Linked DNA regions of Homo sapiens: regions 1, 3, 4, 5, 6 and 7 are each linked to region 2. The links are contacts of gene promoters, found by promoter capture Hi-C in blood cells and fetal thymus (Javierre and others, 2016). All regions are on one chromosome and are shown on one strand. The core of a region is centred on a gene start or on the middle of the fragment in contact, and the rest is flanking DNA. Distances in the headings are between cores, read along the strand shown. Region 1 overlaps LINC01953 (long intergenic non-protein coding RNA 1953). Region 2 holds the start of ATIC (5-aminoimidazole-4-carboxamide ribonucleotide formyltransferase/IMP cyclohydrolase). Region 3 holds the start of LOC107985981 (a long non-coding RNA gene). Region 4 overlaps IKZF2 (IKAROS family zinc finger 2). Region 5 overlaps IKZF2 (IKAROS family zinc finger 2). Region 6 overlaps IKZF2 (IKAROS family zinc finger 2). Region 7 overlaps IKZF2 (IKAROS family zinc finger 2).

The links. Contacts are between HindIII fragments. The CHiCAGO score rates a contact against its expected background, and 5 or more counts as called.
Region 1: a fragment that was not itself captured here is called in contact with the fragment with the promoter of ATIC in region 2 in 2 of 17 cell types (fetal thymus and total B cells); the score reaches 10.3 in fetal thymus.
Region 3: a contact is called between a fragment that was not itself captured here and the fragment with the promoter of ATIC in region 2, in 1 of 17 cell types (fetal thymus). The highest score is 7.6, in fetal thymus.
Region 4: a fragment that was not itself captured here is called in contact with the fragment with the promoter of ATIC in region 2 in 1 of 17 cell types (total B cells); the score reaches 6.0 in total B cells.
Region 5: a contact is called between a fragment that was not itself captured here and the fragment with the promoter of ATIC in region 2, in 2 of 17 cell types (total B cells and naive B cells). The highest score is 6.7, in total B cells.
Region 6: a fragment that was not itself captured here is called in contact with the fragment with the promoter of ATIC in region 2 in 1 of 17 cell types (fetal thymus); the score reaches 6.0 in fetal thymus.
Region 7: a fragment that was not itself captured here is called in contact with the fragment with the promoter of ATIC in region 2 in 2 of 17 cell types (total B cells and fetal thymus); the score reaches 10.1 in total B cells.

Annotation. Positions count from the first base shown.
Region 1 is chr2:213,160,604-213,163,571 of GRCh38, reverse strand. The region is part of intron 1 of LINC01953 (long intergenic non-protein coding RNA 1953); the gene reads left to right. Among named protein-coding and RNA genes, the nearest start is that of LINC01953, 5.6 kb to the left of the region's middle. The HindIII fragment of the contact is 871 bases long and covers 1,128-1,998 here.
Region 2 is chr2:215,310,631-215,313,330 of GRCh38, reverse strand. ATIC (5-aminoimidazole-4-carboxamide ribonucleotide formyltransferase/IMP cyclohydrolase) reads right to left here and starts at 1,272. Exons shown (of 16, transcript NM_004044.7): 1 at 1,170-1,272; 2 at 707-833. The coding sequence starts at 1,188. LOC124907975 (a long non-coding RNA gene) reads left to right here and starts at 1,359. Exons shown (of 2, transcript XR_007088075.1): 1 at 1,359-2,652. RefSeq lists silencers at 928-1,297, 1,308-1,387 and an enhancer at 918-1,568. The HindIII fragment of the contact is 8,450 bases long and covers 1-2,700 here.
Region 3 is chr2:213,188,223-213,190,940 of GRCh38, reverse strand. It overlaps LOC107985981 (a long non-coding RNA gene), which reads right to left and starts at 2,502. Exons shown (of 5, transcript XR_007088069.1): 1 at 2,351-2,502; 2 at 1,725-1,799. RefSeq lists enhancers at 1-765, 1,628-2,488, 2,489-2,718. The HindIII fragment of the contact is 301 bases long and covers 1,304-1,604 here.
Region 4 is chr2:213,033,241-213,036,130 of GRCh38, reverse strand. All of the region lies in intron 6 of IKZF2 (IKAROS family zinc finger 2), which reads left to right. Among named protein-coding and RNA genes, the nearest start is that of MIR4776-2, 110 kb to the right of the region's middle. The HindIII fragment of the contact is 1,601 bases long and covers 670-2,270 here.
Region 5 is chr2:213,016,792-213,019,491 of GRCh38, reverse strand. All of the region lies in intron 7 of IKZF2 (IKAROS family zinc finger 2), which reads left to right. Among named protein-coding and RNA genes, the nearest start is that of MIR4776-2, 92 kb to the right of the region's middle. The HindIII fragment of the contact is 190 bases long and covers 1,335-1,524 here.
Region 6 is chr2:213,073,392-213,076,091 of GRCh38, reverse strand. The region is part of intron 4 of IKZF2 (IKAROS family zinc finger 2); the gene reads left to right. Among named protein-coding and RNA genes, the nearest start is that of IKZF2, 77 kb to the left of the region's middle. The HindIII fragment of the contact is 3,798 bases long and covers 1-2,700 here.
Region 7 is chr2:213,142,464-213,145,469 of GRCh38, reverse strand. All of the region lies in intron 4 of IKZF2 (IKAROS family zinc finger 2), which reads left to right. Among named protein-coding and RNA genes, the nearest start is that of IKZF2, 7.6 kb to the left of the region's middle. The HindIII fragment of the contact is 4,908 bases long and covers 1-3,006 here.

The DNA of each region.
Region 1 (2,968 bases), core at 314-2,813, 2.2 Mb after region 2:
AGTCAGGTAATGGCAGAGTCAGAATTAGAATAAAGGTCTCCTGTCTTCTAGAATTGTGTTTATTAAGAAATCAAACGTTGCAGATGCATCTCATCCTCCTCTCTTTCACCCTGGAGGTTACTGCTATTCCAAAAGTGGTGTCTTTCTTTTATAATACTTTTACTACATATACATATGTACAAAAACAATACATATTGTTTTCTATGTTTTTAAGTATTAACAATTTATATGAGAATCCTTTAACAATTCACTTATCTTACCCTGTATAATATTTTAGGGATTTTTGTGGTGGTATTTATGTATTTATATATGTATTGATTTATGTAGTACATATATATGTATGTGTGTATATATATGTATTTGTTGTAGTATTTAGTTGCTGTGCAATATTTCAATGAAATGATACACTTCAATTTGTTTATCCATTCTCTTGGCCAGTAGCTTTCAGTCTTCTTTTGACCCTGTAATCCATAGGGAGTAAAAATAGCTTTTACATGGTGAGCCAATTGATAGATAGATAGATATACCTCTGATACAAAAAGTTACCTTTTATTTATCTTTGTTGTGTGTGATAAACGTACTGTATTCGATTCTATTTTGTTTTTAGATGCTGGTTATGACTGACTAAATACACACAGCCTGCTAATGGGTTACAACCAGGCATTTGAAAAATACTGTTCTAGGGGGATAGTTTTCAAACTGCTATAACATTTCCAATACTCTGATATTCCTGCAGAACATAGTGGGAAGCTAGTGGGGGGTGACTCCAGCTTAGAATTTTTTCTGTCAATGAAAGATGGAATTAAATAGGAATATCTTTAGCATGTGGATCATTTAGGTACAGAAAACAAGTTTGAACCATGGTTTTAAGCAGTGAGGCTTATTATGAGGTAATTCTAAAAAAATGTGTGCAGATTTTTAAACAAATGATTCACATTTTGAATTCATGCTGCTAGCTTACTACTTTAAGAATTCCTATGGACAGTCTATTTGGAAACTGGAAAGAATATTTTTTAGAAAGTGAATAAAAATCCCCCGTTTTAATTTATTTGCCACGGTCATTGAAGAATATCCCTAACTCAGAGAAATGGCTTTACCTACATTTCCATAAAGTACATCAATAAGCTTTATGCCTTCATTGCATTACAGTAATATATTATTTGCAGACTAAAATACAAATGACCTCATTGACTTAAAGGTCTCCTGTGATGATGTTGTAATGAAGATTTCTGTGTTTAGTGAGTTGGGATCATTTCGTTTTAAAAAAGGAATCTTCAATTACAATTTGGTTACATGTTATACTGCTCTTTGAAGGTGCATTTTAGCCTATGGTTGTGACTAGAGACATAAGAATATTTTGCTTTTAGCAAGGGTGGTTAATTTCTGCTTCCTTTTTGGCATTGGCATCTGACTTGAGTACTCTAATCCTTTCGTCATCAGCTCTCAGTGTACAATGCTTGGCAAAATCTAGTGACTTCGATGAATAAACCAGTCTTCATATGATCCAGAGGCCTTAAGCTGCCTTGTTTTTTTACCCTGATTTTGAAGCAAGTAATGGAGTTGGCAGAGACAGAGCTGAATCTGCCAAAGCTCAGAATAAAGAACACTCAAAACATAAGTGCAAAAGAAAGCAAATAGTAGGAGGTTATCATCTCAATTAGGAGTCATTGTACGGCAGTGATCTGGAGGAACTTGGACTCTGGTAAACGTTTATAAAGTTTTCTTACCTGTATCTGTCAGTTTGCAGTACAATAACTGCTGCAATCACTTGCAACAATGCAAAGATATAAATAATAGTAGGCATATTTCACCTATGAAGGCTTGATTGTCCACTTGACTCCAGATGGAAAGAATGAGAAAGTTGACACAAAGATTGAAATGGAAGATGGGAGCTAAAGCTGAGGTTAACCCCTTTCTTCTGCACTTTCAATTACAACACTGCTTAGAACCTCCTTTCTCCTGAATCAATATCTCACTGCTCAATATGCTCTCAAAGCTTTTTCATTATGGCCCCTGGAACTCCTCTTTTAAGAAAAAAAAAACCAAAAACAAACAGGTAAATCCATCTATAGCCTCCTACCTCTTTAAAAAAAAACCATTGCCTAGGCTGGGTGCGGTGGCTCATGTCTGTAATCCCAGCACTTTGGGAGGCCGAGGAAGGTGGATCACTTGAGGTCAGGAGTTCAAGACCAGCCTGGCCAACATGGTGAAACCCTGTCACCACAAAAATTACAAAAATTAACTGGGATTACATGCCTGTAATCCCAGTTACTCAGGAGGCTAAGACAGGAGAATCGCTTGAACCCTGAAGGCGGAGGTTGCAGTGAGCCAAGATTGCGCCACTGCACTCCACCCTGGGTGGCAAAGTGAGACTCTGTCTCAAAAACAAAAACAACAAACATAAAAACAACATTGCCTAAATGAAAAAGGTCTTCTTTGAGGTCATTACTCCTTCTCATCTAGGATGAATATGTAATGTCACATAGAAACCAAGACACTTAAGAATAAAAGGGGGTACTATTAATAATGATGCCAGGACCACAGGTGTAAACTGAGACAGTTCTTGGCAAACCAGCTCATATGGTCAACTTACCCATAGTCCTCTCAAGTGAAGGCTTTTCATTTTCTACTGATTCACCTTGCTCAAGTTTAGACTAAGGAGTCAGCATCCCCTATGTAGTCCAAAGACATTTTCAGAACATATACACTTTCATGTAAAATCCCGGTTCCTCTGATGTTCATGCTTTCCAGCTACCACCTCACAATTCTTCCTCCTCGCTTTTATTTATCAGTTTTCCAGGGATTCATTCTTCATAGACTTTTGCACCTAGTTCAGTATTTCCCTCTCTTCCCCAAGAGCTACATCTCCCGATTATCCTTTCATGTTTCTGATATTCCACCCCCTAGAGGCCATGACTTCTCAACCTCCATTCCGGATTCTGGCACCTTGTTCTCCATCAGAAATTTC
Region 2 (2,700 bases), core at 23-2,522:
ATTCTAAGGGAAGGCAGGTAAATTGGAATCTTCATGATGTCGAGTTTTATTAAATCACCAGTCAAAGTAACTGAAGTTTTCCTTGCATAACAAGTGGCCCACCTAAGTTAATCTGTTTAAGGAAGGGGCTAAGACTAGTGTCCTAAAATCAGGAACAGCACGGGTTCCAATCCTACTTTTCCCTTACTCAACTGTTTAAACTTGTGCAGAAGATGCTAAATCTGTCCAGTGTGTTGTCCAGGGTCTTTCTCTGTCACCCAGGATGGAGTGCAGTAGTGCCATCTCGGCTCACCACAACCTCCGCCTCCTAGGTTCAAGCGATTCTCCTGCCTCAGCCTTCCCAGTAGCTGGGATTACAGGCGTGTGCCACCATACCGGCTAATTTTTGTATTTTTAGTAGAGACGGGTTTCACCATGTTGGCCAGGCTGGTCTCGAACTCTTGACCGTAAGTGATCAGCCCACCTCGGCCTCCCAAAGTGCTGGGATTACATGCGTGAGCCACCTAGCCCAGCCGTCCAGGGTCTTAAAAGTTGCTAAATCTCTCTGAGCCTCACTTTTTTTCCCCATAAAGTGGGGAAGTATTACACCAACCTCACAGCGCTACTGGGAGGAGTAAATAAGGCGTTTTGCTGCTGGTGCCTGGAATACAATACTTCCTGGTTAATGTGATCACACTCCTTTCTGATGGAACTAGCTATGCCTTACCTGACTGCCAGACCAGCATCCCTGAGAGCTTTTGCAGTCCCTCCGGAAGCGACCAGATTCAAACCAAGAGCGGTCAGGTTTCTTGCAAATTCCACAAGGCCGGTTTTGTCAGAGACACTAAATAAGGCTGAAAGAGAAGACATTTTTTCTCATGATTCGCAGCACATTGCACTGTGTTCTGCAAGGCCTTGGGAGGGTCTGGGGGAGGAGATTCTCGAATCGCAAGGCCAGCACCTGGACCCTGCGTTCGCAGGCCTGGTCCGGGCCTCCCCAGGTCTTACACCCGCGAGCTGCTCTAAGGCGGGCCCCACGCAGGCTGCGGCCCGGCCGGGGAGCGGGGACGCTGGCTTTCAATCCCGCAGCGCCGCCCCTGCAGTGCCGGGTCCCGCCGGCCGCCGCCAAGGCGGGAGCGTGGGGGGCCGCAGGCGAGGACGCAGACCGCGCCGCTCCGCTAGGGCCTCACCGAGCTGGCCGGGAGCCATGGCTGCAGGCACTGGGTTCAGGGCGAGCGGGAGGCAGCAGCGGCGGCACCACGTGCGCAGGTAGGAGGGCTGCCGGGATGTGGCGGCTCAGGAAGCGAGGGGGCGGAGCTGTTTCCGGGCTTATCACGTGGCCCGCCGGCCCTGCCCGGCGCCCTGCTCTGCTCAGTTTCAGATGCAAGATCCGCGCCCCGGGGCTGAAGGGAACGGCGGGATGGGGTGGGGCTCTGCCTGGCGCGCCTGGGCGGAGTGCTTGGGCTGGAAGGGATCCTGCCTGCGATCCCGAAGTCCAGGCGTGGGAGCCAGCGATCTGCCCACGACCCCAAAGTGAGGCCACTCCACGGCCTCTGGGGCAAATGCCTGTTATTCTAGGCAGCCGGTCCCCAGAAGCTGGAAAGTACGTAAAAGTGCCAGAAGCTCCCATGCTGAAAACTAAACAAAAGGAATAGTTCATATAGCGGCAAAGCTGGAAAGTATCTGGACAGTTATCTACCATCCTCCCTTTTTGTTTGTTGTTTTTTTGTTTTTCTGGGTTTTTTTGTTTTTTTTGTTTTTTTTTTTTTTTTTTGAGATGGAGTTTCGCTTTTGTTGCCCAGGCTGGAGTGCAATGGCGCGATCTCGGCTATGTCACGTGCAACCTGCAACCTCCACATCCCGGGTTCAAGAGTTTATCCTGCCTCAGCCTCCCGAGTAGCTGGAATTATAGGCAGGCGCCACGATGCCCGGCTAATTTTTGTATTTTTAGTAGACATGGGGTTTCGCCATGTTGGCCAAGCTGGTCTCAAACTCCTGACCTCAGGTGATCCGCCTGCCTCGGCTTCCCAAAGTGCTGGGATTACAGGGGTGAGCCACCATGCCCAACTTGTTTTTTGTTTGTTTGCTTGCTTGCTTGTTTGCTTGTTTGTTTTGAGACAGGGTCTCGCTCTGTCTCCCAGACTGGAGAGCAGTGGCACCATCTCAGCTCACTGCAACCTCTGCCTCCCAGGTTCAAGAAATTCTCCTGCCTCTGCCTCCACACCCGTCTAATTTTTTGTTGTTGTTGTACTTTTTTTTTTTTTTTTTTGTATATTTAGTAGAGATGGGGTTTCACGGTGTTGGCCAGGCCGGTCTTCAACTCCTGACCTCAAATGATCTGTCCACCTCAGCCTCCCAAAGTGCTGGGATTACAGGTGTGAGCCACCGTGCCCGGCCCCATCCTCCTTTTTAATAGGCTTAAAAAATAAAACCAAGGACCAATGATTTAAGTGAGGGACTCCAGAGGCCACAGATGACAGTCAAAACGAAGTGAAATTGACATTCGTTGTTGATTTTCACGTCATAAAATTATAATTTAAATATTAATTTATAATACTATTTTATACAATTTAGTCAGTATTGTAAAAGTGCCTAAAAACTACTTAAAGATGGTGTCTTCTTGCAAACCTGTAAATATTCCTGGATGAGAGGAATGATGACAGTCAAAAGAAGGTAAGAGAAGACCTTTCTTAATTCATTAAAAACAGGGAAAGCAAAATT
Region 3 (2,718 bases), core at 205-2,704, 2.1 Mb after region 2:
ATAATTAAGTGGGAGGCAGGGTTCTCTTATATTTTTGCAAACACTAGCCATTTGTTCCAAAACATTTTTTTGGAAAACCCATTCAGTACATTGATTTGAAATATCACCTCTAAATTCCCAGGGACTTACAGCTATGTTTGCTTCTTTACTTTTTAATCTCTTCCATTGATCTGCCTGTTTACTCCGATGCTGTTACTCAAACACTATCACAGTTTCAATTGTCACACCTTAAAAATATGGCTTAAGGCCAGGCGCGGTGGCTCACGCCTGTAATCCCAGCACTTTGGGAGGCCGAGGCGGGCGGATCACGAGGTCAGGAGATGGAGAACATCTTGGCTAACGCGGTGAAACCCCGTCTCTACTAAAAATACAAAAAATTAGCCGGGCGTGGTGGTGGGCGCCTGTAGTCCCAGCTACTCGGGAGGCTGAGGCAGGAGAATGGCGTGAACCCGGGAGGCGGAGCTTGCAGTGAGCCAAGATCGCGCCACTGCACTCTAGCCTGGGCGACAGAGCGAGACTCTGCCTCAAAAAAAAAAAAAAAAAAAAAAAAAAGGTTTACTACACCACAGGCAAATTCCTACTTGTTTCTCTTTTTTTCTCAGAATGTTTCTGGATATTCCTACATTTAGTCTTCCAAATAAATGAGAGTTATGTTGTCATGTCAAATACAAAATGGATCTCTGTGTTATACTTACAAATAGTTTGCAGAAAATTTACATCTTTACAGTATCTGTCTTTCCAAAAAGACATGTCATGACTCTCCATTCATTCTATTAGTTTAGGCCCTTCATTTCGTTGGTTGGTTTGTGTTTTTTCCTTCATACAGGTTGTGTATATTTTTTGTTAAATTTATTCTTAGCATCCTTTGTATCGGGCCTGGACTTTGCAGAGGAAGATAAGATGCCCTGCTGTGTTGGTTTAAGCCTGAAACTCATCCCTCCTTCTAAGGCTTGGCTTATTTCTAAAAACACCATTCTCGAACTTTGATAGGCTTCCAATCAATTTTGTTCTTGCGAACTCCATGGTTTAAAATACAGAACCAGAAATCTTGAAATGAGAGGCTTCTCCCCGCATCGCTACATCCACCTTGTCACTGATTCTCAATAGCTGCAAACGTGACCCGAGAAAGCTTTAGTCGCTTAGCAACAAATGGGACTAGCTCCTCCCCTCCCCATTCTTCTAGAAAGAAAGGCTTAAGCCTCAAGGCCCTGAAGGGAAATATCAGTCAGAACTCACAGTAAAGGATCTTTCTTCCTTAATCTGCCTTTGCTTATTTCCAAAAGCCAGCGCTGCATTCCAAGCTTTGGTCACAGGATGGACTTAAAAAGGGATGTCTCCTCACGTGTGGGAGGGAGCTTGCATTGGTAACTGCCTCAGAGAGGCTCGAGTGCCAAGAATTCTCAGCTCCCCATCCTGCAGGATAACCTTATTCACTGTCAGGATCCCAACCTTATCCTTAGAAACATAGCTTAGTAGAAGACTCTACTGCTGTCATTGAGGGCTCTGAGGGCCGAAATCAGGGGCAGAGACGGCTTCCTCTGCACAGATACCTAACACCTTTGCAGATCCGGGTCTGTTTCCCACCAGGCAGCCCAGGGCAAGCTTGAGTTCCTGTGTTCCTTTTCCCGCTGTACTTCATTTAAGGCTACAAAGAGTTACTGATTCACACTTCCGTTCAGCTCATTTATTTAATTACCCAAATTAAAAAAAAATTTGATCCTCACCAGAGCCTTTTTCTGCCGGGACATAAAGCACAGCGTGACTGTCCTTGGTCAGGTGTCTGTCCTTGATCCAATCAGCTGTAGCCAGAGGTGGGGTAGAGTCAGAGGAAAAAGAATGTGGCCTTTATTCCTGTCTTTGGATACTATTACAAGGAGAGAATGTGACTAGGCAATAGTGATTAGCGTTTCTAGCATAATGTCCTTTGCTATTACCTTTTGAGTTGCATTATTTCAGCTCTCTTTTACATATCATATGGACGACTTTTGATGTCATTGGAGTTTTTGTCTATTAAATAAGTTGTTTAATCTCACTTTTATGTAGATTTAGTAATAGCGATATTTAATTTAATAACAAAGTAAATGTATTAAATGACTTAATTTAATAAAAGCAATCAGCATTTACAGAACTCTTGGTATGTGCCAGGTATTGCCATAATCCCTTGTTATATAAATAACATATTATCTTTTAATTCTTACATGCATGTTATTATCCCCATTTTATAGATGAGAAAACTGAGGCACAAACAGGTCAAGAAACTTGCTCGGTAGCACATACCAAGTAAGTAAACAGTGCACTAGGACTGGAACCTGGGCTAACTGCTTGCAGAGTGCAAGCTTTCCCCGCTCACCTTAGTTTCAGTCTTCTGTTATTTATGCTGTTTCTTCAACTTTTAATGTTTTGCCTCCTGTGGTCTCCTTGATACTGTTCCTGTCCACTTCAGACCTCCCCTCTTCAGATTAGGGTTCTCCCTTCCTTCATCTGAGGGAACTTGGTAACTACGAAAATGTCAGATCAGAGAAGCAAAGTGAGGAGGGGCAGAGTGCTCACTTTACATTCCAGAGATGCCAGCATGGCCTAGGAATGTTGTTGAACTCTGGTGGGAAAGAGGCTCAAGGCCCCGTCATTCCTCAGAGCCTGCCTGCAGCGCCAACCTTTGTCTCTCTAATATTAGGATTTCCCAGAATTTCCTCACTTTCCTATAAGTCTGTGCTACCC
Region 4 (2,890 bases), core at 221-2,720, 2.3 Mb after region 2:
TTATAAACAAAAATCTATCATGAGGCTTGAAGACATATAGCAGCTTAGAACAAAATAAATCTAACAATAGTATAAATTATATTTGTGAGAGTACTTTAAAAATTATGATCTGATATAGCAAAAAAAATCATACCTTGATAACTATATGTTTACATTTTATCCAACTTCCAATATACTCATGAAAGCTGAGATATAAGCTCTGGTCTGTCTGAATCTAGGGTCTCTGCTCTCAGCCACTATACTCCTGCTTCCCAATCTATTCTCCAGATAGCAACCAGAATGTTACTTTAAAATCTGATTTAAACCATGTCACTCCTCTTCTTAAAATATTTTAATGGTTTTCCATTGCTTTTATAATAAAATCAAACTACTAATCATGGCCATTGGTGGTTCTGCCCACTTCTACTGTCTGATCTTCTACTACTTTACGCCTCACTCTGGGTTCTTTGCAACCCGAGGTTTCTTTATTCTTTCCTACTGTTTTTGAACTAATGGATGATCCTAGAAGTCAACACCTTCAGCGTTTTCCCAAGATCTTGGCATAGTTGCCTTATTATCTTTCAGATGTTAGTTTAAATGTCATCTCTTTGAAAATAGTGGCATCCATAAGCAACCTACCAGAAGCATCCCCTTAGTTCTATTTTGCTATCTCTATCTTAATAAAAAGCTTGAATCAGAATCTGTGGTTATGTTGGTGTTTAGTTTATACACATGTTGTCTGTGCCATCCCACCTCACTCGAATGTAAGCTCTGTGAGATTGTGGACTGCAAGACTGTCTTTGTGGAGCTTACATTTTAATAAGGGGAGACGGGCAAGAATCAGTTAAAAAATCATATAATATGTTAGAAGATGTTGACTGCTACAGGGAAAAAAAAAGATTTTCCACTTATTGATCATTTATTGTGTGTTAAGTACCTTGAGTTTTCCATATGGATTAAAAAAAATATATACTCACAGAAATGCTGTGAGTTAGGTACAACTATTTCCTAATTTAACGTAACCTAGGCTTCACACACAACTGGCATTAGGGTTAGAATTTGAGATCCAAGTAAGAAACCACATTCTGGATATACAAATACATATTCTTTATATGAATATTCCATAAGTTAGAGCAAGCTATTTGCTTCTGAATTGATTATTTTGGGAGCTGTTTGCTATCCAAATTATTTGCTTACTCATAAGCCTGAGTTCTTGTAATATAGAAAGTCAGATGAAAGGAAATACAAGCATAACTTCCTTTATTGTGCCTTACTTTATTGCACTTCACAGATAACTGCGTTTTTTACAAATTGAAAGTTTGTGGTAACCCTAATTCCAAGCAAGTCGGTTGATACCATTTTTCCAATGACACATGCTCACCTCATGTCTCTCTGTCACATTTAAATAATTCTTGCAATATTTCACATTTGCTCATTATTATGTCTGTTTTGTGATCTGTGATCTTTCTTGTTATTATTATAACTGTTTTAGGATACCACGAACCACACCTATACAGGCTGGCAAACTTGAATTTTTGTGTTGATAAATGTTGTGTAAGCTCTGACTGCTTCACCAACTGGCCAGTTTCTCTGTCCCTCTGTCCCTCACCTGGCCTCTATATTCCTGAAATGCAAAAATACTGAAATTAGGCCACTTAATAACTGTACAATGGCCTCTAAGTGTTCAAGTTAAAGGAAGACTCACATTTCTCACTTTAAATCAAAAGCTAGAAATGATGAGGCTTAGTGAGGAAGGTATGTCAACAGGCAAAACATGCCAAAAGATAGGCCTCCTGTGCCAAACAGCCACATTGTGAATGCAAAGGAAATGTTATTGAAGAAAATTTAAAATGCTACTCCAGTGAACACACAAGTGATAAGAAAGCAAAACTGCCTTACTTCTGATTATGGAGAAAGTTTCAGTGGTCTGGATAGAAGATCAAACCAGCCACAACATTCTCTTAAATCAAAGCCTAATCCTGAGGAAGACCCTAACAATATTCAATTTTCTGAAGGCCACGAGATGTGAGGAAACTGCAGAAGAAAAGTTGGAAGCTAGCAGAGGTTGGTTCATGAGGTTTAAGGAAAGAAGCCATCTCTATAACATAAAAGTGCAAGGTGAGGCAGCAAGTGCTGATGTAGAGGCTACAGTAATTCATCCAGAAGAACTAGCTAAGCTAATTAATGAAGGTGGTTGTGATAAATGGCAGAGTTTCAGTGTAGACAAAACAGCCTTCTATTAGAAGAAGAGGCCATCTAGAGAGGAGAAGTCAGTGCCTGGGTTAAAAGCTTCAAAGGACAGGCTGACTCTCTTGGTAGGACAATGCAGCTGGTGACTTAAAGTTGTAGCCAATGCTCATTGACCATTCCAAAAATTCTAAGGTCCTTAAGAATTATGCTATATCTACTCTGCCTGTGCTCTATAAATGGAACAGCAAAGTCTGGGTGACAGCACATTTGTTTACAATATGGTTTAGTGAATAAGCCTATTGTTTAGACACTGCTCAGAAACAAAAATTCCTTTCAAAATATTACAGTTCATTGACAATGTACCTTGTCACCCAAAACTTCTGATGGAGATGTACAAGCAGATTAATGTTGTTTTCATGGCTGTTAATACAGCATATATTCTTCAGCCCACGCTCAAGGGTTAATTTAAACTTTCAAGTCTTATTACTTAAGACATACATTTTATAAGGCTAGAGGTGCCATAGACAGTGATTTCTATGATGGATGTGGGCAAAGTAAACTGAAAACCTTCTGGAAAGGATTCAGAATTCTAGATGTCATTGAGAACATTTGTGATTCATCTGAGAAGGTCAAGATATTAACAGGAGTTGGGAAAAAGTTGATTTCAACCTCATGGATGACTTTCAGGAGGTTCAGGACTTCAGTGGATAAAGGAACTGCA
Region 5 (2,700 bases), core at 180-2,679, 2.3 Mb after region 2:
ATACGAGGTAGGAGTTGATAAATACTGTAAGAGAAAAACATGGTTCTGTAAAATGCTGCTAGAGTTCATCATTAACATACGTCTCATATAAATAGCTTGGCATATGTCTCTTTTTAAACAGAACCATGATGAAACTTATATCTATTCCCTTCTCTTGCTGTATGTTATTTATTTGTTTTCCTTTTTTGTGGTAGATATGAGAGTTGCTGTCATTTTGGTTGCCATTAGCTCCATGAAATGATTTAACTATTACTTGTTTTTAAAAAATATCTGACATAGTTATATTTCCTAGTCTTTCTTTTCTAAAACATGTTTTTCCCTGTGTTGTTCTTCTAGTATGGAATTTTTTAAAGGAAAAGAGGCATTTTCACTTTACTCAGAAAACATTTATCAAGAGCTTACTATGTGCCAAGTTATATAGAACATTCTGGGGTATAAAAATAAATGGACCCAGTCTTTTAATACACTTACTTTATAGTCTGGTAGGAAATACATACTTTAAAAAAATAAAATAAAATGAAACAAAAGCTCTAATAAGGATGCATACACAGTTCTCTGGGAACATAGATGTAGAATTAACCTAACTCTGGAAAAGTCAAGAGAGGCTTCTTACATGCAGGAGTGTTCAATCCAAACATGAGGGATGAGTAAAAATTGCATATATCAGGCAGGATACAGAGAATGTATATTCAAGGAGAAAAAGAGGCTTGGAGATATAAAAGATAATTAACAGCTTCCCTGATGTTGAGTGTAACTGCAGTTTAAGGAGTGGTAGGAAATGAAGCTTCTGAATTAGTAGGTTGTGATGCAAAGACAGAGTCTTCTCTGCTAAGCTAGTGTTTGAATTTCATTGTGTAACTGATGGGGGGCCACTAGGGTAACCAAATTTGTTATTAATGAGGTAATCAAATCAAGAAAAATGTCTCCAATGAGGATACATGATAAATGCCTACCTGGGGCAGGGGGTATGGTGTGAGGAGAGACTGGAAATGACAATGCCAAAAAGAAAAAGATGAAGAGGCAACTGCAGAAGAGAACAAGGTGAAATATTGAAGACATATTTAGGAGGTAGAATAAAATGGTCTTAGAAAAGTTGATTGAGTTTGAGGAAAAAGGAGGAATATCATGACTCATAGTTTTGGAAATAATAATTGAGTTTTATGACAGATTATTTATATAATTAAATTATTTAATTGGGTTTGATGAGCTTATTTATTTTATTGGGTTTTAGGGCAGATTATTTATCTTATTTAATTAGGTTTTATGGCAGATTATCTTGTTCAATATTATCTTTATGTTGCTTTTTCAAGTCTGCTTAGCTTGAAGGAAAAGCTTTAAAATCAAACTATGTTATTACCTGTTTTACCTAAACCTAAAGACAAAAATGAAAGTGCAAAGCAGAAGGATAGCCAGCTTAAAATCTATATATATTGTTAGGTTTATGCTTTGAATTGTTTAGGAAAGGGAGGTTCTTTTTCACAGTATAGAGGCATTATTGGGCACCCCCAAACTTTGGAATAAGCTTTTTTGACTTATTTCTATTGGGTGACATCATTCAGTGAACATCCATTGAATATTATATCTCTCTTGTATCATAAAAGGTATTAGAGACACAAATACAACAGAATGCAACCCCTGAGGTTATTTACCAGCTATTGGAAGATAGACCAGTAAAACAACAATTATAGTACTATGTGATAAGCATTATGGAGACAGAGAGGACATACCTAAATCAGCAGAACATCCAAGAGGAATTTCCCGGGATTGAGCTTAGTTTTAAAAAGCAAAAATGTGAACTAATAAATGGAGAAGGGTGTTTCCTGCAGAAAGAACAACATATGTGAACAACTACCAATGTAGCATCTAAAACACTTGGGGTACCTCCATGTGTGTTTGTAAAGAGATGTGGTAGGGAGGAGGAGAGGCAGAAGACTGGATGAAAGGAAGAAATCTAGGATTTTCCACAGGTGACCAGCATGGCTGATGGAGTAAATAGTAGTGTCATTCAGTGATATGGTAATTAGTAGTGTCATTCAGTGATATGGTAATTAGGAAAATAGAAGAAAGAAAGGTAAATGGAGATTTTACTTCTTTTACTATATTCTTTTATGTCTCCATGAAATAGGCAAATAAAACTGTCTAGGAAGATGTTAAATATATAGATCTCAAGCTCTTGAGAGGGGTCTGAGTAGGAAACAAAGATGCAGGATCCATCATAATTTATGTAGTGGCCCAACGTAGTAGTTTTTAATAAGGCAATACGGATAAGTACAGAGTGAGACATCAAGAAGGCCAAGAACACACTAGCAGGAAAAAAATTTCATGAAGATGAGTAAGAGCAGAGTAGGAACATGGAAAGAGTGATTTCACAGAAGCCAAAGCAAGTGTCAGCACTGCCAAATGCTGTCAAGAAAATAACTAAGATAACTGTAAAGTTTTTTTTTTAGATCGGGTAACACGGAGAAAATTTGCAACAATATAGAAGACATCTGTTGTTTTTGCCTGCCTGACATCCCTTCCTCCTTCTCTTGATAACAAGAGTGCCCATTTACCTTTAGAGAACTTTCCTGTTGCATGTAGCTGTGGTGGGACCCTCAGTCCAGGTACTCTGCCCTCTCCTGCTCAGGAGCTAGACATGTGATCTAACCTAGGTCCCTCAGACTTGGAATTTGAATTTGGGTGAACTGTTTGGTTTTTCAA
Region 6 (2,700 bases), core at 25-2,524, 2.2 Mb after region 2:
GCGTTGGGAAAACATTATTTGTTTTTTTACAATCAGTGATTTAAAAACATAGTCATTAGTGTGTCTGTGTGTTTTAAATTTGTATATGAATTTCTGTGATGCCTTATCTGCTCTGCTCTTTGCTATGTGCCATTAACCTAAATTTGGTAGAGTGTGGTGGTGGTGTATTCTTAGTATTTGCTTATGATTATTTTATGAGTTCTTTGATAATATTATTCCCAGGCAGAGAAAAATCAAAAATCTTCTTTCCATATTCTTTAGTTTGAATGTCAGTGCTTGTATAATATCAAGATAGAGGTCACATGAAAATATTTTATCTTCATTTCTCACCCAAACGAGGATGGTTAAAATACACTGGGTGTGTTTAACATAAACTACTTAATGGTTATTGTGTCAGTATATATCAATTAATGAAAAATTAATCAAATGTTTCCTTTGAGGATTCTAGTTTTGTTAAAAGAAAACTTCTGTGTGACCTCAGAAAATTAATACTTGTATTCAGATTCTCAAATGAGAGTTGATAAATAATATTTATTTAGGTGACATTTGGAGCAAACTGTCACTTTAAAAAATAAACTTCTACTAATGACATTATGACAACATCCACATTGGGGGAACTCAAATATAGGATAAGATATATATTTTTTCTACTGAGTATAACTTGAAAGTACTTGGAATTTGTATTTATTTCTTGGTTCATTTTAAATATTATGGCAAAAACCACAGTTACTTTGGCATCAACCTAATATTTCAGCTGATACCCTAATTTGAAGTATTGCAATGGCCAGTTTGCTAATGAACATAAACACATACAGCATGTGCCAATAGATTGTTTCTCTAAAGCAGCGATTAGCTTTTAGAAAACTTTTCCCAGTGAGATTTACTATTTCATATTTAATGTTAATAAATGGGAATGGGACATGTGTTGAAATAACGATAAGGCCATATTAAGCCAGCAGAACAGAACAAAACTTTAACTGAATGAAATAAGGTAGTATAGACTTCAGCATTTCTCTTTTATTGAGACTGTCTCAGTATCTGTATAGTGTATAGCCAAGGAACAGTTTGAAAGCCACTTTAGAATTGTCTTCTAGAAAAGTACACACATAGTTGAAATCTGAAATAACTGGAAGTTAGTTTTAAGAAAACAAACCGCCTTTTCAGGATCCATGCTTGTCTGTCTAGCCTGAATAATTTAGGCTTACGTTTAATAACCATTTAAATACAATTGTAATAAATTCATCATCATATTAATAAGGTTTGATGAATCAAATTTTTATAGAATGTTTAAGAGAAGGTTTTTTCCTAAATGAAATAATTGCAGAAAATTTGGCATTCTATTACTGTAGCAAAACTTGGCAAAGACCAAAGTACAGAACAGAATCTAGATTCTTAGTGAAATTTGAATCACAGCTTCTATGTGGTAATGCAATGTCAGTCTTCTAAAAAATATGTATGTAAGCAAAATCCATTGATTGGATTTAAGAGTTTTGTTAGGCTTTTGTTATTCTAACTAATGTTCCATCTGGATTTTAATATTTGACATAAATATGTACAGTCATGTGCATGCCTGATAACTTTTCAATGATAGACCACATATACAACATATACAGCGGTGATGCCATAATATTATAAATAGGGTATTTTTAAGATACATTTTCTGTGTATATGTAGATACCATTGGGTTACAATTGCCTACGTATTCAGTACAGTAACATGCTGTGCAGGTTTGTAGCTTAGGAACAACAGGCAATATATACCATACGGCCTAGGTATGAAGTAGGCTATCCTATCTAGATTTGTGATGTACACTTGATAGTGTTCACAGCTAAGGACACATTTCTCAGAGCACATTCCTGTAGTTAGGTGATAGTTGATTTTATGTAATAGTTATAAACATGTCAGAATAATATATTTTCCTTGACTTAGTTTTATATGGGGTTAAAAAGTAAAGGGCAAAATACTGCTACTCTGTTCATGTTTTTAGTTAGAGATGGATGTGTCTCTTCAAAGTTTTTTCTTTTCAATCTTTTTCATTTGTATGATATTTAAATCAGTGCTCTGGATATTTGCAACAAAATAATGAATATTGTCACTTTCTCAGTTTGAGAGGATAGTAAAATACATTCAAGGGACCAGGGAAATATGATTATAGGAGCTGGGTCAAATAGGTACAAGTTTCTGGATCCCAGGGATTGTGAAATGGAAATTTATCTTTTTCTACTTCTGGATGTTACTTTAGAGATAATTCTTCACATCATTCTGAATTTTTAAAATTTAGGTTATTTAGAGATGTGGAGGTTGCAGTGAGCCAAGATCGTGCCACTGCACTCCAGACCTGGCGACAGAGCAAGACTCCATCTCAAAGAAAACAAAAATTATGTTATTCATAAGTTTTTATGGACTTCTGATTCGTTGGAAGTTAACATGGCTTTCACTTCCCTGATTTTCATTTAATTTGTTTAATATATGCTTTACATTTTGGAAAGGTGAAGTGTACATTGATTTTTCTGTTGTTTTTCTTGTAGTGTTACCTCTTTCAAAGGTGTAACATGCTATTAAACATTTGAATAACTGTCATACTCTAAAACCTTTTTATATTTATGAAACATAGATCATGTCAATAATGGATTACTATCATTTGTTTAATATTTTCCTGGCAGTGTTTTCTGTTTAATTTTTGTATACTTCTTCTGTGGT
Region 7 (3,006 bases), core at 59-2,558, 2.2 Mb after region 2:
TGAGATCACCGGTTTTCCTAAATCCCTTTACATGCATTGTTGACTTTGTTTAATGAAAAGAACTTATTTATTTTCTGCATTTTTTAATATCTTCAAATATACTTCCTGGAGGGTGCCTGCTTCCAAAAACAGAATTGCAATTTTGATTGAAAGTGTTAAAGCTAAAAGTAAATGTGAAAACCTTTAAGACAGTTTCTAGTAGCAGGAAGGAGAGGATGGGAATATATGTGTAAGGAGGAAAAAAGTTATTTTTAAACAGTTAAAAAAATAAAATAAGTAAATTTTTTTTTTTTTTTTAGTAAAACAGCTAACATTCTGGCCAGAAAAGTATCAATAAGGCATGAGAGCTCACTTATTTTGGCTTTAGGAAGGTGGTCAGTACTACTGTAAGGTCCCAGCATTTGTTTAAGCTATTTGGTAACTCTTCTAAGATGAAGGGTTTCTGTGCAACTTGCTGCCAGCTATTGTATAAAAATAATGACGGCAGCTATCATTATTTGACAGTGCTAGAATAGAGCACTGGTGACTTGGGAGGGAGAGAACTAAAAATGTTATAATGCCTGACAGTTTTTGGTTTTAAAATTTAGCATCTAAGATAAACTTAAGAAGAAGTAAGAGGTATTAGTGATCCTAACATTTTATAATGACTACTTCCTATGGTTTTGAATGAATTTTCTTAGAGAACTTTAAACTTTTTCTTCTGGAATGAGGATGTCTTTGTTAAGAAGATGGACATTGTTGCCTGAGATCATTAGTGTACATATTGAGTCTGCTGACAATCTTCGGTGTCAGGGATGACAGTATATGCCTTGATGGCTATTGGAAATACACAGTGTTAAGTGATTTTTAAAAATAGAATCTGGGACTTAAGAATCTGAGACAGACATCTCAGACAGAACAATATAAAAATAATCCATATTGTATTTCGGCCCATCAGATGAAACTTACTTTGTGATTCCTTCTGTTTCTTGGTTAGCTCATTTCCAATTCTTGCATAGTTGTTCAGTATTGGTTTCAGACTGTTCTATACTGGCAGGTGACTATTTTGAAAATTGTTTAAAGTTCAAAATTTTTAAATTAATTTTATTTTTCTTATCTATTTTTTTATAATGTTTATGTATAAATTTACTTTGCAGGTAGTTACTTAAATGGGTATGAAAATACATCATGATGCAAAATTTGTTTCTATTACTTTAAAGCTGTTAAGTGGATCAACTGTACAGTCAATGCTATTTATCAGTCTGATGGCCAGGTGGCATGTATGGAATCGGAAGAAGTAGTAAGTCTAGTTTTACAAGGCTCTGACCAATAATCAGGTCAGGGAATCTAGTTTATTCTTTTCAGAGTACTTCACATTAATTTTTTTCTTAGCTAGTTTCCATTTTTAGAACCTAGCGAAGCAGAAGTATATTATGATTTCTATTTTTCATATGTGGAAATTGAGGCTTGAAGAAATCAATTTACCTCTTAGAGAACTTAGCAGAAAGATGAAGTTATCAGGATTGGGACATAAAATTGTGATATTACCTTGTGGGTTAGTTAGATAACTGCTATCTCTACAATGTCACCTTCTCAGGGTGTCTGCCGTGTCCAATACTGGCCCATATTTTTGTGACAAATATCTCAGAAATAGAAGAGTTATTATGAGGGTGGAGTGATATCAGATTATCTTTTCAGGCGGGTGTTCTAATGCACTTTTTGAAATAGAGCCTATATTATGGGACTTACCAGCTTTCTGAGTTTTCTTCTGTAGCTTAGTTTGGCAGTCACCCTTGCTTGGATTTCTGTAGGACACACCCTAATATAACACCAGATGGGCTTGATAGAAAATCTTCTGTTTTAAGTCGCCATACTTAGGTTTGTGTATATACCCAATGTACTTTACATTTAGTTCTTGTTTATTAGGGAATTAAATAAAAATAGTTCTGATTTAATTTCTTTACAGGTATCAGAGATAAATGTCATAACTATGTACCAAAAGAGAAAAAAAGGGAAAAAAAAGGAAAGTAAAAGAGGTATAGATTTGTTGGTAATCAACAGCAAAAGTGCTGTAACTTTTTCTTTGCACCTCATTCCGCTCCCAACTCCCTATCTTTTTAGTCTGCTTAGTACTGAGAATTAAAGTCCGTTTTCAAAAAACAAAACAACGTATGGCAGAAAGATTATCCTTATCATCTCTATCTTTGTTCAAAATCTGTCTTTCCCACTAGAAGTACTTTTTTAAAAAAAGGTAACACCATTGATTGTGTTCTATTGAGAGTCTTCCTGTAAGCCATAATGAATTTTCATCTCTGGGTTCCGTGCTCTTCTCTCCTAACTTTTGACATGTTGATATATTTTGAATATTTACATATTTTTATCATATTTGGAAATATCAATAGCAGAGTTCCAGTCCTAAAATGAGGTAGAATATGTTGTTTTTCTTTACTTTTTTCCCTTCTTATCTGTTTATGTTAAATGTATTTGTTGGCCTGTTGGTATTTTCCTTTTGCGAATTAATTGAGACCCAATATACCTCTGTTTTGATATAGGTAAGGAATATTTAGGGATGGTTTCCTTTATTATAAATGTTATAATCACCACTAGAGCGAGAGAAGGTAGAGGGGCATCCTTTATTGAGTGCACTTAGTATGCTAGATGCTTTACTTATTATTTCACTTTGTCTCCACATCAATTCTGTGAGGTAGGCATGTAATTACTCTATTTTATAACACTTAAAACTGAGGCTCAGAAGCAGTAGACTGTGAGTGGTTAAAAATATGGGCTTTGCAATTATGCTGGCCTGGGTTAGAATTCCTGCTTTGCTGTGTGACCTTGGCCATGTCACTTCACATCTCTGAGCTCCAGTTTCCTTATCCGTAGAATAGGGATAAGCAATACCTACCTCAATGGGCTGTTGTGAGATTTCAATAAGGCAATACATGCAAAATGCTCAGCACAACTTCTGGCACATGCTAAGACTCAATAAATAATCACTGCTGCTATTACTCAGAGCAGTCAAGTTAC